4 separate regions of the Homo sapiens genome follow, and regions 2, 3 and 4 are each linked to region 1. The links are contacts of gene promoters, found by promoter capture Hi-C in blood cells and fetal thymus (Javierre and others, 2016). All regions are on one chromosome and are shown on one strand. The core of a region is centred on a gene start or on the middle of the fragment in contact, and the rest is flanking DNA. Distances in the headings are between cores, read along the strand shown.

The links. Contacts are between HindIII fragments. The CHiCAGO score rates a contact against its expected background, and 5 or more counts as called.
Region 2: a fragment that was not itself captured here is called in contact with the fragment with the promoter of ASB15-AS1 in region 1 in 1 of 17 cell types (M2 macrophages); the score reaches 5.1 in M2 macrophages.
Region 3: a contact is called between a fragment that was not itself captured here and the fragment with the promoter of ASB15-AS1 in region 1, in 1 of 17 cell types (fetal thymus). The highest score is 5.1, in fetal thymus.
Region 4: a fragment that was not itself captured here is called in contact with the fragment with the promoter of ASB15-AS1 in region 1 in 1 of 17 cell types (M2 macrophages); the score reaches 8.7 in M2 macrophages.

The regions. Positions count from the first base shown.
Region 1 is chr7:123,623,130-123,626,492 of GRCh38, reverse strand. ASB15-AS1 (ASB15 antisense RNA 1) reads left to right here and starts at 1,536. Exons shown (of 5, transcript NR_111922.1): 1 at 1,536-1,597; 2 at 3,333-3,363. It overlaps ASB15 (ankyrin repeat and SOCS box containing 15), which reads right to left. Exons shown (of 12, transcript NM_001290258.2): 8 at 1,679-1,924. The HindIII fragment of the contact is 15,446 bases long and covers 1-3,363 here.
Region 2 is chr7:124,864,167-124,867,529 of GRCh38, reverse strand. The region is part of intron 7 of POT1 (protection of telomeres 1); the gene reads left to right. Among named protein-coding and RNA genes, the nearest start is that of POT1, 64 kb to the left of the region's middle. The HindIII fragment of the contact is 3,127 bases long and covers 485-3,363 here.
Region 3 is chr7:124,797,797-124,801,159 of GRCh38, reverse strand. No RefSeq gene overlaps it. Among named protein-coding and RNA genes, the nearest start is that of LINC03043, 8.7 kb to the right of the region's middle. The HindIII fragment of the contact is 2,540 bases long and covers 261-2,800 here.
Region 4 is chr7:124,774,537-124,777,899 of GRCh38, reverse strand. It overlaps LINC03043 (long intergenic non-protein coding RNA 3043), which reads left to right. Exons shown (of 4, transcript NR_167671.1): 4 at 338-608. Among named protein-coding and RNA genes, the nearest start is that of GPR37, 10 kb to the right of the region's middle. The HindIII fragment of the contact is 690 bases long and covers 1,145-1,834 here.

The DNA of each region.
Region 1 (3,363 bases), core at 287-2,786:
TTATTTATTTATTTATTTATGTTGACAGAATCTCACTCTGTCGACCAGGCTGGAGTGCGGTGGTGTGATCTCAGCTCACTGCAGCCTCCGCCTCCTGGGTTTAAGCAGTTCTTCTGCCTCAGTCTCCTGAGTAGCTGGGATTGCAGGCATGTGCCACCACAGGGTTTCGCCATGTTGGCCAGGCTGGTCTTGAACTCTAGGCCTTAAGTAATCTACCCACCTTGGCCTTCCAAAATGCTGGGATTACAGGCATGAGCCATGGTGCCCGGCCCCCTCTATTTTAACTTAACAAATACTTACAGTTAATAAAGTATTAACAAATACTTTATTGCCCTCTATGTGCAATCAGTGTGTGTGACCCTAAGAAGAATAAGTGTGACTACTCTAAGGAGCTTAGAGGGGAAATGAAACAAAATATCAGACAGCACAAACTGTATGATATTCCAGTGACACTGACATTAAGACAAGGAGACATGATGTAGGGGACTGTGGCTCTGCTGCTTATGGTGAGAGCTGGGGGCAAGCCGTTTACTTCCGTGCACCTCCATCTCCACATCTGTGAATGATTAATACAGCTTACTTCACAGGGCTTATTTGAAAATTAAACGTGGTTGTATTGGGACACCTCAAAAATGTTAGTCTTTTTCCTACAGGGAATCACTGGGGATCATGCGGTTCTAGAGGTCATTTGCAGATGAGGACGCTGAGGACCAGATATTTAAGGAATAAGGCTAGGGTCTCACAGTGAGTAGTGGCTCAACCAGTTTAGGAGTCAGGTCTCCTTAACTCATGGTTCTGTAGTTGTATAAAACACCTGGAGGGTTTAAGAAAGGGCAGTGTCACAATCTGTTGGAAAGAATTAGGAAAGGATTTAGGGAGGAGGTGTCTCAAGAGATTGACTTTGAATTGTGCTGAAGAGATAAAGGCAAGGACCTGACCCAAACCCTGCAAGGTACGTTTGGGAATACTGCTAGTATATTTTGACTGGAGTGTAGGATACAAGATGGGAGCAGTGAGGGATAAACGTGGTAAAACAATTTGAGATGATGCAATAGGGATTGTTTTTTGGATAGTTGACACTATTGTAGCTGCCCTATAGGGAGAGGAGCCAAGTTGCAGTATGTACTGTGATTCTCTGATGGGAGACTAGAAACCCAGAAAATGGTTAGAAACTATTTGCACTGGTCCAGGGAGAATTGAGGGACCTGATCAGGATGGCAGATGGATTGCAATGAGAGGACAAGAGAAACGCTACAAGAATTTGCAACTGATTGGATTTAGGAAAGCAGGTGATGGAGGAATTAGAGATAAATACGATCTTTCAATCCTGTTGAGAGAAATTATTACATTAGAAGAGTAGAAAAACAGGAGGAATTCAGTTAAGGAGAAGATGAGCATGAGGCCCTGATGGGCCATCTATGTGCAGATTGAACTGTCTCTCGAGAGAGCAATCAGGACTGGGCTTGTAAATTCGTAGGTCACAATGTATAGGGCTTAGCTGAGTTGTAGAATAAGGGTCTACTGAGGGACCAGGTGGGAAAACCTGATGCCAAGTTCCATTCAGCAGAGGAAGAGGAGCTCCCCTAGTTACATTCAGGTGAGGAAGAGTGATGAATGGAGAAAAGGAGAGTTCGAGAGGCAGGACAAAAGTCAGGAAGTGTAACTCCTTTTCACATACCTTTGTGGATTAGATGTTCTAACACGTCACAGTGACCATACTCGGCAGCGACGCCTAGTGGTGTGACTCCAAATCCATCTCTCAGGTGGACATTGCCTCCATGTTTCAGCAGCAGAGCTACGATATCTTTTCGGCCTTGCTTGGCTGCTTCATGCATTGCTGACCATCGCTTGACACAGGGCTGGTCTAGGCTAGTGTTATGTTTGATCAGAGTCGACACCATGTCATAGGAGCCCTTTTTCACAGCTTGAAAATGATTGTTAAAAACAACAGTAAGTATATTAACACAAATACCTTAGGTGGTATTAAACTAATTACTAAATTTAATATTGAAATAGATACTAGCTAGTAACTTTTTTTCTACAAGGAAAATAATGTATTTCTCATATCCCTTCTGTTTCTCATACCCAAGTTTATATTTGTGAAATATAAGTTTACAAGATGACACTACCTTTTCTTTAAGACCTGGAGGAGGGGTAAGAGTTTCACAGAAAATAACACGTATCACTAGGATAGGATGCTGTGTGCCCTCTTTCCAAATTTTAATTTCTTCACCAACAAAATGGAAATAACACTTGTTGTTGGGTTGTACAAATTAAATAATGTATGTAAAATTCTCAGTGTAGTACCTAGTACATAACAGGAGCTCAGTAACTGGCTATTATTATTATATCACTCCTAGGACCCAGGAACCTCATATGTAAATCATGTTCATCAGGTTTCCCCTATAGAAACAGGGTTTTTTCCCCTTGCCGCAAAAGATAGCAGCAAGTATTGAATGAACTTCTCTTTCTTATATATGTATTTTCTTTCCTTTCTCTTTCTTTCTTTCTTTCTTTCTTTCTTTCTTTCTTTCTTTCTTTCTTTCTTTCTTTCTTTCTTTTCTTTCTTTCTTCCTTCCTTCCTTCCTTCCATTCTTTCTTTCTTCTTTTCTTTTCTTTTTTTTTTTTTGAGACAGAGTCTCGCTCTGTCGCTCAGGCTGGAGTGCGATGGCACAATCTCAGCTCACTGCAACCTCCACCTCCTGGGTTCAAGCAATTCTCCTGCCTCAGCCTCCTGAGTAGCTGGAATTACAGGCGCATACCACCAAGTCTGGCTAATTTTTGTATTTTTAGTAGAGACAGGGTTTCACCGTGTTGGTCAGGCTGGTCTCAAACTCCTGACCTCGTGATCTGCCCGCCTTGGCCTCCTAAAGTGCTTGGATTACAGGTGTGAGCTACCACGCCCGGCCCTCTTTCTTACATTTTTAATGGGTGATTATCAATTAGATTGTTTAGAATCTACATAGGCCAACTGTTCCCAGTGAGTGAAGTAAGTGACCGTTAATGTAGTACAATTAAGGAGGTTCACCAAATCAGTTGTCCCTCTCCCTCTCTGCTCATCTCTAATGGCTGAAATTATACTGTTACAAGGTTTTCCCCTTTTGGATTATTAAGAGATTGTCCCCATTTAGATGTATACACTTCTAAAAATGTAACTTTTTTTTCCTTTTAAGTAAAATCTTATTAAAATACAGATTAGGATGAGTGCTGCCCCTACAAATGGAGATGTACACAGTTACATTCACTCATTCATTCATTCACTCACTCATTTCCTATTCAGTTAATACGGCTAGCTCCACTAAAGGCTCTGTGTTATGCACTGTGGACAACAGGAAGAAGAGACAGATTTGGATCTCACTCGTA
Region 2 (3,363 bases), core at 799-3,298, 1.2 Mb before region 1:
TTCCACCAGATGACACTATAGGTGCCAAGGCCCTGTGATAGGAATGAGCATGGTATTGGAGAAACAGAAATAAGACCAGCATGGGCAGCCATGGGGGAGGTGTTGCAAGATGAAATTGTGGTAGGTAAGTTATTTAGATTTTACTCTAGGTATAATGAGAAGTCATTAGAGGGTTTTAAATGTGAACATGAAATTATTGGTTCAAATTTTGAAAAAAATCTCTCTTACTAACGTGGATAACAGATGGGTTGTTGAAGAACAAGCATGAAGGCAAAGATATTCTTTAGAAGGCTATTTCAGTTTTACAGACATGAAATGAGGATGCGTTAGACTACAGTGGTGGTGGAAATAGAAGTAGACTAATTAAGGTATATTTTGAATCTCAAGCAAAGAGGACCTGCTCATAAATGATATGTGAAAGCTACCAACACACCTAAGCTGGAAGATTGTTCTGGTTTACTATGTTAATCAGCAGAGGCAAGCTTTAGTCAACAGTATACACTAGTGAGCATGGAATTGGTGATAAAAATGATGACCACAGAACCAAGAATCAATCAGACATTGGAGTATAAAAGAGAAGCAGCATATACATCAAGTAGAACCCATTTAAAAGTTAGGTAATCGATCAGTTGTAGGCAAGTATAGTTAGAATCTGCAGAGCGAACTTCTGTGTTACGAAAAATTAACTGGTACTAGACTAGCCCTACTACCACGAAGACCCATAAAACGTTATGAGGCAACTGTTTTTTAGGCATCGGACAATGGGTAGCTATGATCAGAGAGTGAAGAGAAACTTATAAAGTGAGCCCCATGATGACCACATCCCTGCCTATAGACATTTTCTCAACCACTGCACAGTAAGCTGAAGTTCAAGCTGTGGTCCTGCTATAGCTAAAGTCAAAGTTCAAGGCAGCTGAAAGCTGGAATTTTCACAACAAGAAACCAGAGAGGAAGGAGTTATACAGAAGGGGATGTCTAAAAGTCCACCAGGGTTGGGGTGGGCTCGAATACTTGGTTGAAAGCCAGGCTGCACAGAGCAGGGTAGAACTACTTAAGGATTACAAAAGCTGCTGTGTGGTTGAACTGTGGTTGAACATGAAATGGATACTGGAGGTCTAGTAATGGGGTGCTGGAAGTCCAAGATAGTCAGGGACAAATAACCTTATTAATACCTCCTTAACAGCTTGGACATTCAGCTGAGGCAGCACAAAGGTTTCACCCCCCAAAAGTAGCTCACCTCACGAAGGACCACATCTTATAGTAAGGCCTATTCTACACATGTTTTATCAAAGCCTGAAACAAGTTCTACGGAGAAGACTTCGCAGAGAGTTTGCAGGGTGAGTCCCATCAAGGTAGAAGACTTTGGGAAACATCATGGGCTTTCCACGTATCACCCTAACAAAGCATAAAAACAAGCATTCATGAGTTTAAGATGACCAGACAACAACTCAGTGGCCAACAAGAACAAAAATCAGTGTTTGTCAGAAGAAGCCAACATAATTCAGAGTCTTTACAGTATAGCATCTATGATGTCTAGTAAAGAAAAAAAGATATATTCTACATGAAAACAACAAAGTGTTACCCTTAGTCAAGAAAAAAGAAAAAATCATACACATTCCAAACCAACTCCATGGTAGCCCAAATGTTGTCTTTATTAAACAAAAACTTTAAAGCACAGATTATATAGACTTTCAAAGAATTAAGTGGAGGTGAGAAGATCCCTTGAGCCCGGGAGGTCAAGGCTGCAGTGAAATATTATTACACCACTGCATTCCAGCCTGAGTGACAGAACGAGATCCGTCTCAAAATAATAATAATAATAATAATTAATAAATAAAATAACTTAAAAAAGGAATTAAGTGAAAATAGATTCAGTGAATTAGAGGAAGATGTTAAATGAATGAAAAGAAATTTCATCAGAGAAGTGGAAACTATTAAAAAAATAGAAATTCAGGAACTGAAAAGAACAAATGAAAAATCTAATGGATGGGCTAAATAGATCAGATATAAGTTAAATTGATGACAAATCATTAGAAGCTACCTAATCTGAAGAACAAGGATTAAATACAAATTAATAGACCCTAAGGACCTATGGAACAATATCAAGGGTTACATGTAATTTAGGATGCAAGAGGAGAGAGGGTGAAGGGAAATAAAATATTTATAGAAATAAGGACCAGAATTTCCCCAAATTTGATGAAAAACAAAGACTTAAATGTACTTTATGCAGGGTATGTGCAAAGAAACGCACATCCAGACAAAACTTTCTCAATGTGAAACCATTGAGAAAGAGAAAAATCTTGAAATCAACTGGAGAAAAAAATGATGCATTGTTGGAGAACAATGATACCAGTCATCTTTCACTTCTTACCAGAGACAGTGACACCCAGAGAACAAAGAAGTAAGTTTTATATGGTGATAGAAAAAAATTTATTCACACAGAATTTTATATCCAGCAAATACATTCTTCAGGAATGAGAGTAAAATAAAAACATTTTATATAAAGGAAAAATGAGATAGTCCATGGCAGCATATCTGCATAGCATTAATGCTAAAGAATGATATTCAGGCCAAAGAGGAATGCTAGCAACTAGAAGCTGGATAGTTAAGAAGTGACAAAAATACAAGAAATGATGGAAAAAAATAGCAAATACGTAAACACAATGTTTTTCTTTCCGTAATTTAATTAAAAGAGAAATGTCTATTTAAAGCAAAACCAATAATATTACATGGTGGAGATTATAAAATATGTAGAAAAAATACTACAACAGTAACACAAAGGATGGATGGGATAAGTAAATGGAATTCTACCATTGAAAAGATATTTGTGAAGTAGAACGCGTAAAATAGGAAGTGGCAAGTATGAAATGGAAAGTAGAAAGTACATAGTGGAACAATATTGATTCCAAGTGGACATTAAGAAGTTAAAGATTTATTCATAGCTAAGAAGAACGAAATGGAGCACTAGTAAGAATTCCAAAAAGAAAACAAGAAAGGAACAATAGGAAAAAAAATGGTTTTAAAAAAGCAAAGAAGCAAAAAAGCAAGAAGTATGAAAAAAAGGAAAACAAATAAGATAGTAGACTCAAATATGGCCATGTTAATAACTGCATTTCTGTGAATGGACTAATTTCCAATTGCAAGGAAAAGATTGACTGAACAAAAATAATCAGGAACCAAATATATGCTACCTATGAGAAATGCACTTTAAATATGAAGACCTAAACAAGTTAGAACTAAAACTGTAGGAAAAAAAATGTGCAAAGTAAACATAAGGGAAATGAAGTAACGATATTACTACGAGAGAGTTTTGGAAGGAGCATTTCATAAGGACAAAGGGGTCACTTCATGAAGATGTAACAA
Region 3 (3,363 bases), core at 281-2,780, 1.2 Mb before region 1:
TATATACATCGTACATATGATACATATATAAGACAAATATGTATATATACATATTCTAGTTATAGAATTCAGTGTGATCAAAGTGTTATTGACTCTCCATGAACAGAATGCAATTGTTTAGGATCTGAACAAAAAGAAAAAACACTCTCAGCATTTACAACAAGGAATTTAATGTAGGAATGGGTTATATGGGTGATGGAAGAAACTCAGATGCTAACTAGATGGCAGTGAGGCTATCTAAACATTGGCCCACCCAAGCTTCCTCCAGATGTAGGCAGAAGGACAAAAGGAGGCAACCCGTGCCCTTGGGCTGCTGCATGAAGGCTGGAGCTCACGGTTTTTATGGCAGGAGCTAGGCCCTAGTGTGATGTTAGCTACTACCAAAGGCAGAAAGTTGAATACCTTGACTTCTCCCTTACCCCTGCCTCTAATCTGCTGATGGCAACTGGTGCCTGGAAAATGTAGACTAAAAGGACAGCCCCTTGCAAACAGAACAAAACTGAGAAGGACAAGGGCAGACATTACCAGAATAGGCACGCAGGCATACAATTCAAGTTGTTTACAGAAGTGGGGATGTGTTGCACTGAACTGTCTGCTCTGTTTCACATGTCAGTCCCTTACTCTCACTGTTCTAGCCCTGTAAGACTGCAAGAGGGAGGCATGCAGCGATTATGGCAGAGCTTCCCATGGGCCTGAAATCAAAACAATTGTCTTCTTGACCCTATATTGCATCCTGTTGAACAAACCAAGACACATAGAAAATGATTTTATTTTCCGCGGCTCATTTTTGGCAAAAACATACATTGCCACTTTATCATGCTCTTCAGTGACAGCCACAGGGAATACTTTTGGACCATATGGTAGTAGAAAAAAATCCCTAATTAAGACATTTATTTATTTCTGTGCTTTGAAGTTCTTTTTTTTCTTCATAGTTTTACTTACATGTAACACATGGAGGTGTTGAGCTGAAGTGAAAATACAGAGAATAAATGATTCTAAGAGTTGGGAACTTGAAAGCTGGGTACGAATCAAAGGTAAAAAGTCAGTAAACTGCAATTATTGTACTGCTATACAAGAATAATTATATAAATCTCAAAGAAATTGAAACCTTTGAGGCATGTACAAAAACCATATTAACAACAATGGCATAAGATAGCCTTGCTGAAGTCTGGTCTTCAGGAAAGGATTCGGTATAGACATCAATTATAAGCAAGGTGCAGCCGGGCGCAGTGGCTCACGCCAGTAATCCCAGCACTTTGGGAGGCCGAGGCGGGTGGATCACCTGAGGTCAGGGGTTCGAGACCAGCCTGGCCAACATGGCGAAAACTTGTCTCTACTAAAAATACAAAAATTATCTGGGCATGCTGATGGGCGCCTGTAATCCCAGCTACTCAGGAGGCTAAGGTGAGAGAATTGCTTGAATCCAGGAGGTGGAGATTGCAGTGAGCCGAGACCGCGCCACTGCACTCCAGCCTGGCTGATAAGCAAAACTCCATCTCAAAAAAAACCAAAACCAAAACCAAAACCAAAAAACAAGCAAGGTGCTTCATGGGGAGTGAGGACTTTCAATCATTAGAAGATGATTTCAACCGAGAATTTTTATATTGTCTCTTTACAAATGCAATTACAGAGTTACAAGGTAATTTTATGTTTGGCTTTACTATATTTCAGGTAATCAGCTTGCTACAGTTTATACTTTTTGTAGTTTAAGTACTCTGAGAGTCAGATATTTGTAAATTATAATACTAGATTGCAGAATAGATTTTAACTATTTTGATTTAAATAATATCCTGTGATTTTAAAAAGTATCTGTATTTTACATTTTATTGTAAAGATTTTGATTTATTTTTTTAGTAATGCACACATGTTTGAAGGAAGAGGAAGAGACAACTATATCTATAAATACATAGTTAATTGCTGACAAATCTTTGAAAATTATATTATCTAAATATTGTTTTTATATTCAACTAATATTAGCCACTAAAATTGCTAATTTTTACCTTCAAATTTTACAGTTATTTGATAACTACAAATCATTAATTTTTAGCAAGAAACCCAGAAAATTAAGGTAATGTCTAATCATCCTTACTGAAAAAAATCGCTAATTTTAATGGTGAGAGTGACTATCTAGGAAGAAGAGCCTTTCTTGAAAATAAATGCCTTAAATTTATAATTTCTGTGAGTTTCATGTTAGTTTTCATTTTATGATAAAGTTTTAAATAAAAAACTATACCAGTGGAGTAAGAGTTTTCTCAAAGGCTGTGAATGATCAATACCAAAAAAACTTGTTGCAAAGTAAAGACTATGGGCAATTGTTATTGACTGACACACGGAAAGAGGTAGTTTGGGTGGTAGGGGAAGGAGGCTTGAGAGAGGGATAGAGAAGAGCCACGCAATATCAAATAAGAGTTAGACAGATCTGTCTTCCTCCTCACACATACATCCAAAACTTCTGTGACTATTTTCAGAAAGGTAATTGCAAATCCAAGGAGAAACTGAACATTTGACACGGTTCAGTGTGACTTCCTTAAATCCTCACCTCTTTTGACTCCTTAGCCAAAAAAAAAAAAAAAAAAAAAAAAAAGGTGAAGTTAGGATACAAGGAACTAGGAGTGAAGGATAACATTCTATTAATGTATAAAGCTAACTCACTTGTAGCTGGGGATATTTTCTGATGGATTTGGTCATTGTTGAGTAGGTAAGATTTTATTAGGTAGAAATAGAAATTCCAAGAGGAAATAATGTGAATTTTGATTCAGTTGTTCTATGAGTGGGCCTTGGATTCTGCAGTTAACAAGCTTTTAGAATGCCGATGGTGCTAGTCTGGACCACACTTGAAATATCAGGCTAGCAAGGCAGCAGCTTCCAGTTTCTGCATCATGCAGAAACATATTCCCAAACCTATTAATCATTAGAATCACCAGTGGAAAATCATTATGTTCCCCTCCCATCTATTCTACAAACAGAAGCCAGGGCACACCTTTCACAATGTAAATCAGATTCTATCATTTACCTGCTCAAAACTACCTTCTCATCACGCTCATTACAATCAAAACTCTTTACAAAACTATGTATGATCCAGTTGGGGCAACCTCTCTAATCTAGCATATCTTATTCTTCTCCAGATACACTGGCCCTCTTATTACAAGAATCAGCCTCTGCCAAACACCTTTGTCAAGGTTTTTAAATTTGCTATTGTTTAGCCTGGAACACTTTCCTCAAGTATCTGCATAATGGCTTCTTCACTCCATTGAGGTCTCTGCTCACATAGCAAATGTGTTTTATTTTATTTCATTGTTTAGAGATGAGGTCTTGCTCTGTTGCCCAGGCTGGAGTGCAGTGGCAAGATCATAGCTCACTGCA
Region 4 (3,363 bases), core at 240-2,739, 1.2 Mb before region 1:
TCCCCAGTGCCTAGCACTGTGCCTTGCAGTAGTAGAAATTGACAAATATTTGTATCAAAAAAATGAAAAATGAGCATGAGCTGCATGTGAATGAAATCATTGTAATGTTGGCCAAGTTTCCACAATATGTATTTGTGCAGTTGAACTATCAGAAGACATAATACATGGTTTAATTTATCTGTTTGAAATATTGAAATCAAAAGATTTTTGTGAATGAAGTGCTAATAGTTTCTGCCCTTGCTTTGAATTCCTTAGGGCAGCTACTAATTTGCCAAATGCCTTTTATGAAAATGTTTGCATTTTCTTTTATTTTTATTTGTTTTCTTGTCATCCTTAGGGAGCAGAATGCCTGTCTGACTCACCCTGACAGATCAGCTATGGCAGGTCTGCTGTTGTAGAAAATTCTTCACCCCAGAGGCTTTATCTCTCCTGCAGGGAAGGCTCATGAGCAAATGCTGTCATTAGCAACCATGCATTGTTGAAGACATATAGTGAGAAAATATGTCAGGTATTGTTTCAATGTACCAATGTTAGTAGAAAATCCTGAAGAATTTTCGAGATATTAACTGTAGATTAAAACAACCTTTAACCTAAATCCTGAGAATTTCCCTTGGCGTTTTGATTTTCTTTTTGTCTTTCTTAGCCATCTTTTAAAAATTAAATCATTTTTTTTTGTTTTTCTGGGAAAAATTCTTTTATCTGAGGATTTTTCTAAGCTGTACCATTAGATTTCACTTCCCTTTTTACATAGTCTATTTCATACCTATTGGTTTAAAATTATCAAAAGAGCCAGGCGTGGTGGCTCATGCCTGTAATCCCAGCACTTTGGGAGGCTGAGGCGGGTGGATTGCCTGAGCTCAGGAGTTCCAGACCAGCCTGGGCAACATGGTGAAACCTTGTCTCTACTAAAATACAAAAAATTAGATGGGCGTGGCAGCATGCACCTGTAATCCCAGCTACTCGGGAGGCTGAGGCAGGAGAATCGCTTGAACCCGGGAGTCAGAGGTTGCAGTAAGCCAAGATTGCACCACTGCACTCCAGCCTAGGCGACGGAGCAAGACTCCGTCTCAAAAATAAAAAAAATAAAAAATAAAATCATCAAAATAAATATTTCCTAGAGCTAGGACAATAGACATATCAAGCTTCCTTATAGAATAGCTCTATTTTTGTAAATATGCAAGTATACCTCACTGTTTTTTGCATAACAGATAGCAGATAAATATTTGCTAAATTAGTAAGTGCTTAAATAGTTATATGTATGTATACTTTTTTTTTCCCACAAACCATTATGGGAAATAGTAACACTTTACATAATTTGGTGAAGACATTGTGTTGTTGTGGTTTTATAAAATTTTCTAAAGCTATAAACCAGAGTAATAATCCTAGACTCTGCATGGGGCCACAAACCTGGGTGAATGTATAGAATTGACCAAAAAAGGAATTCCCTATACAAATAAAAGTGCCTAGAATAATAGTCAGGATTAAAGGCTGATTTGTTATGGGAACTTCTAAGATAATTGTTTTCAGACTGTTTTCTTTCAGGTTTTAAGTTCAAAGGGTATCTATGTACAGTTGATTGTAAAATAAATATTTGGCAGGAAAGGGTTTGAAATTCAAGTATAAGAGATAGTAGGAAAGGGGCCACAGGATGATTAACACCCAGGCTCGTAAATAAATAGTTATAATTGGAATTCTCTTATCTAACTCGATTAGAATCTGTATTTGGTTACAGAATTAAAAAGCAGTGAAAGTAAGGAATCATTGAAAACTTAATATATACCTTAAATACTTATTTTAATCTAAAATATATAAATGTTCATTTATTCACCAAGCTTTTGGGATGAGGCCAATAACATGAGTTCTATTTCCTGAATGAAGGTCCTTACCTTCTTTTTTGCATAAACCACACACCTATAACATATCATTTACATTTCCAATTTGAGTTTCATTAAAGTTAAGAACTTAACACTTAATAAAGCAATCTAAAAACATAAGCATTTTTAACTTTTTATCATAACATTTTATAGTTTTCTTACATCTAACTTAACATTTTAAAAATCAAATCTTTCTGAAACGTTTAAAGAAATGACTCTATTTTCATAATCACATCTCATCACTTTTTAATATAATGTTAATTAATTTGCATAATTATCATGACAAGTACAAGTGACTTTCACAGGTAAAGAAGCAGACACAACTGATTTTGACTCTGGTAAGCAACACCACTCAAGGAGAGGGTTGGAAGCAGAAGTGCCTGAGTCTCCTATGGAGTAGCCTGTCAGTGACTGGGCAGCCCTTGGGCAGTCCATGTGTTATGGGTGGAAGGAAGAGCATTAATGAATCCAATAGTTTGGTTAATTCTAACTGAACAGTATTCTTTTAAAATTTACATGTCCCTTATTTTAAGAATAATATGTTTATTATATATATCTTGAAATAATATGTTTCAATAAATTGAAAATAAAACACATACATACACACATACACACACACACACACACACACAATGCACCACCTGGAAAATCACTATAAATATTCAATCATTCTATTTCCATAATGCTCTCTTATGCAAGGACCACTTACAACACAATAATTTTTAAACACAGTCCATGGTTTTAGCTAATACTGCATATATCACATAAAAATAGGACAATATGCCCTTATAATGAGTTATTCTTGTTATAACTCATGAATATTAGTACCAGTGTTGGACCTATAGCTAGAGTTTCCAGATTTCCTTCAGTTGCATAAACCCTCTATACAAAAGAGAGATTTTTTTGTATAAACAATGTAAAGAATGTGAATCACTAATATGGAAATTATGTGAATGTGAAAAATATTTATTATGTTTTGGAATATAATATTATTTAACAGTGCCTTAGCCATTTTCAAATGAGGATATATGAGTACAAAAATAATAGAGATGTCTCTAACCCTTCCAGATAATTAATGAAGGAGTCAGGATTAGAACCCAGGCCTTTTCTCAATATTGTAATATTTATGGGTACCTGATTAAAATATAGTCATTATGATCTAAGCGAACAGTATGCTGTAATGGTCTGAGGAGATGTTTTCTTTCCAAATATATTTCTTCGATTAAAATGGCAGGTTTCTAACATTCTTTAAGTGTATTTCCCAGTAACAATTTAAAATTATAGGAATTTCTGTATAAACAATTACGGGATAGCAATAAACGACCTCAAAAAAAAAAAAAACAAAACTCTGGATTGCTTTTGAAAAATGGCACATGAAGTAAAAAGAATTTCAGAACTTGTTAGAAATAAAAATATCTTGTGTCATGTTGCCCCAAAGCCCTGCATATAATGTTGAAGCTTAATTTTAGATTATACAACTTAAAGTTAA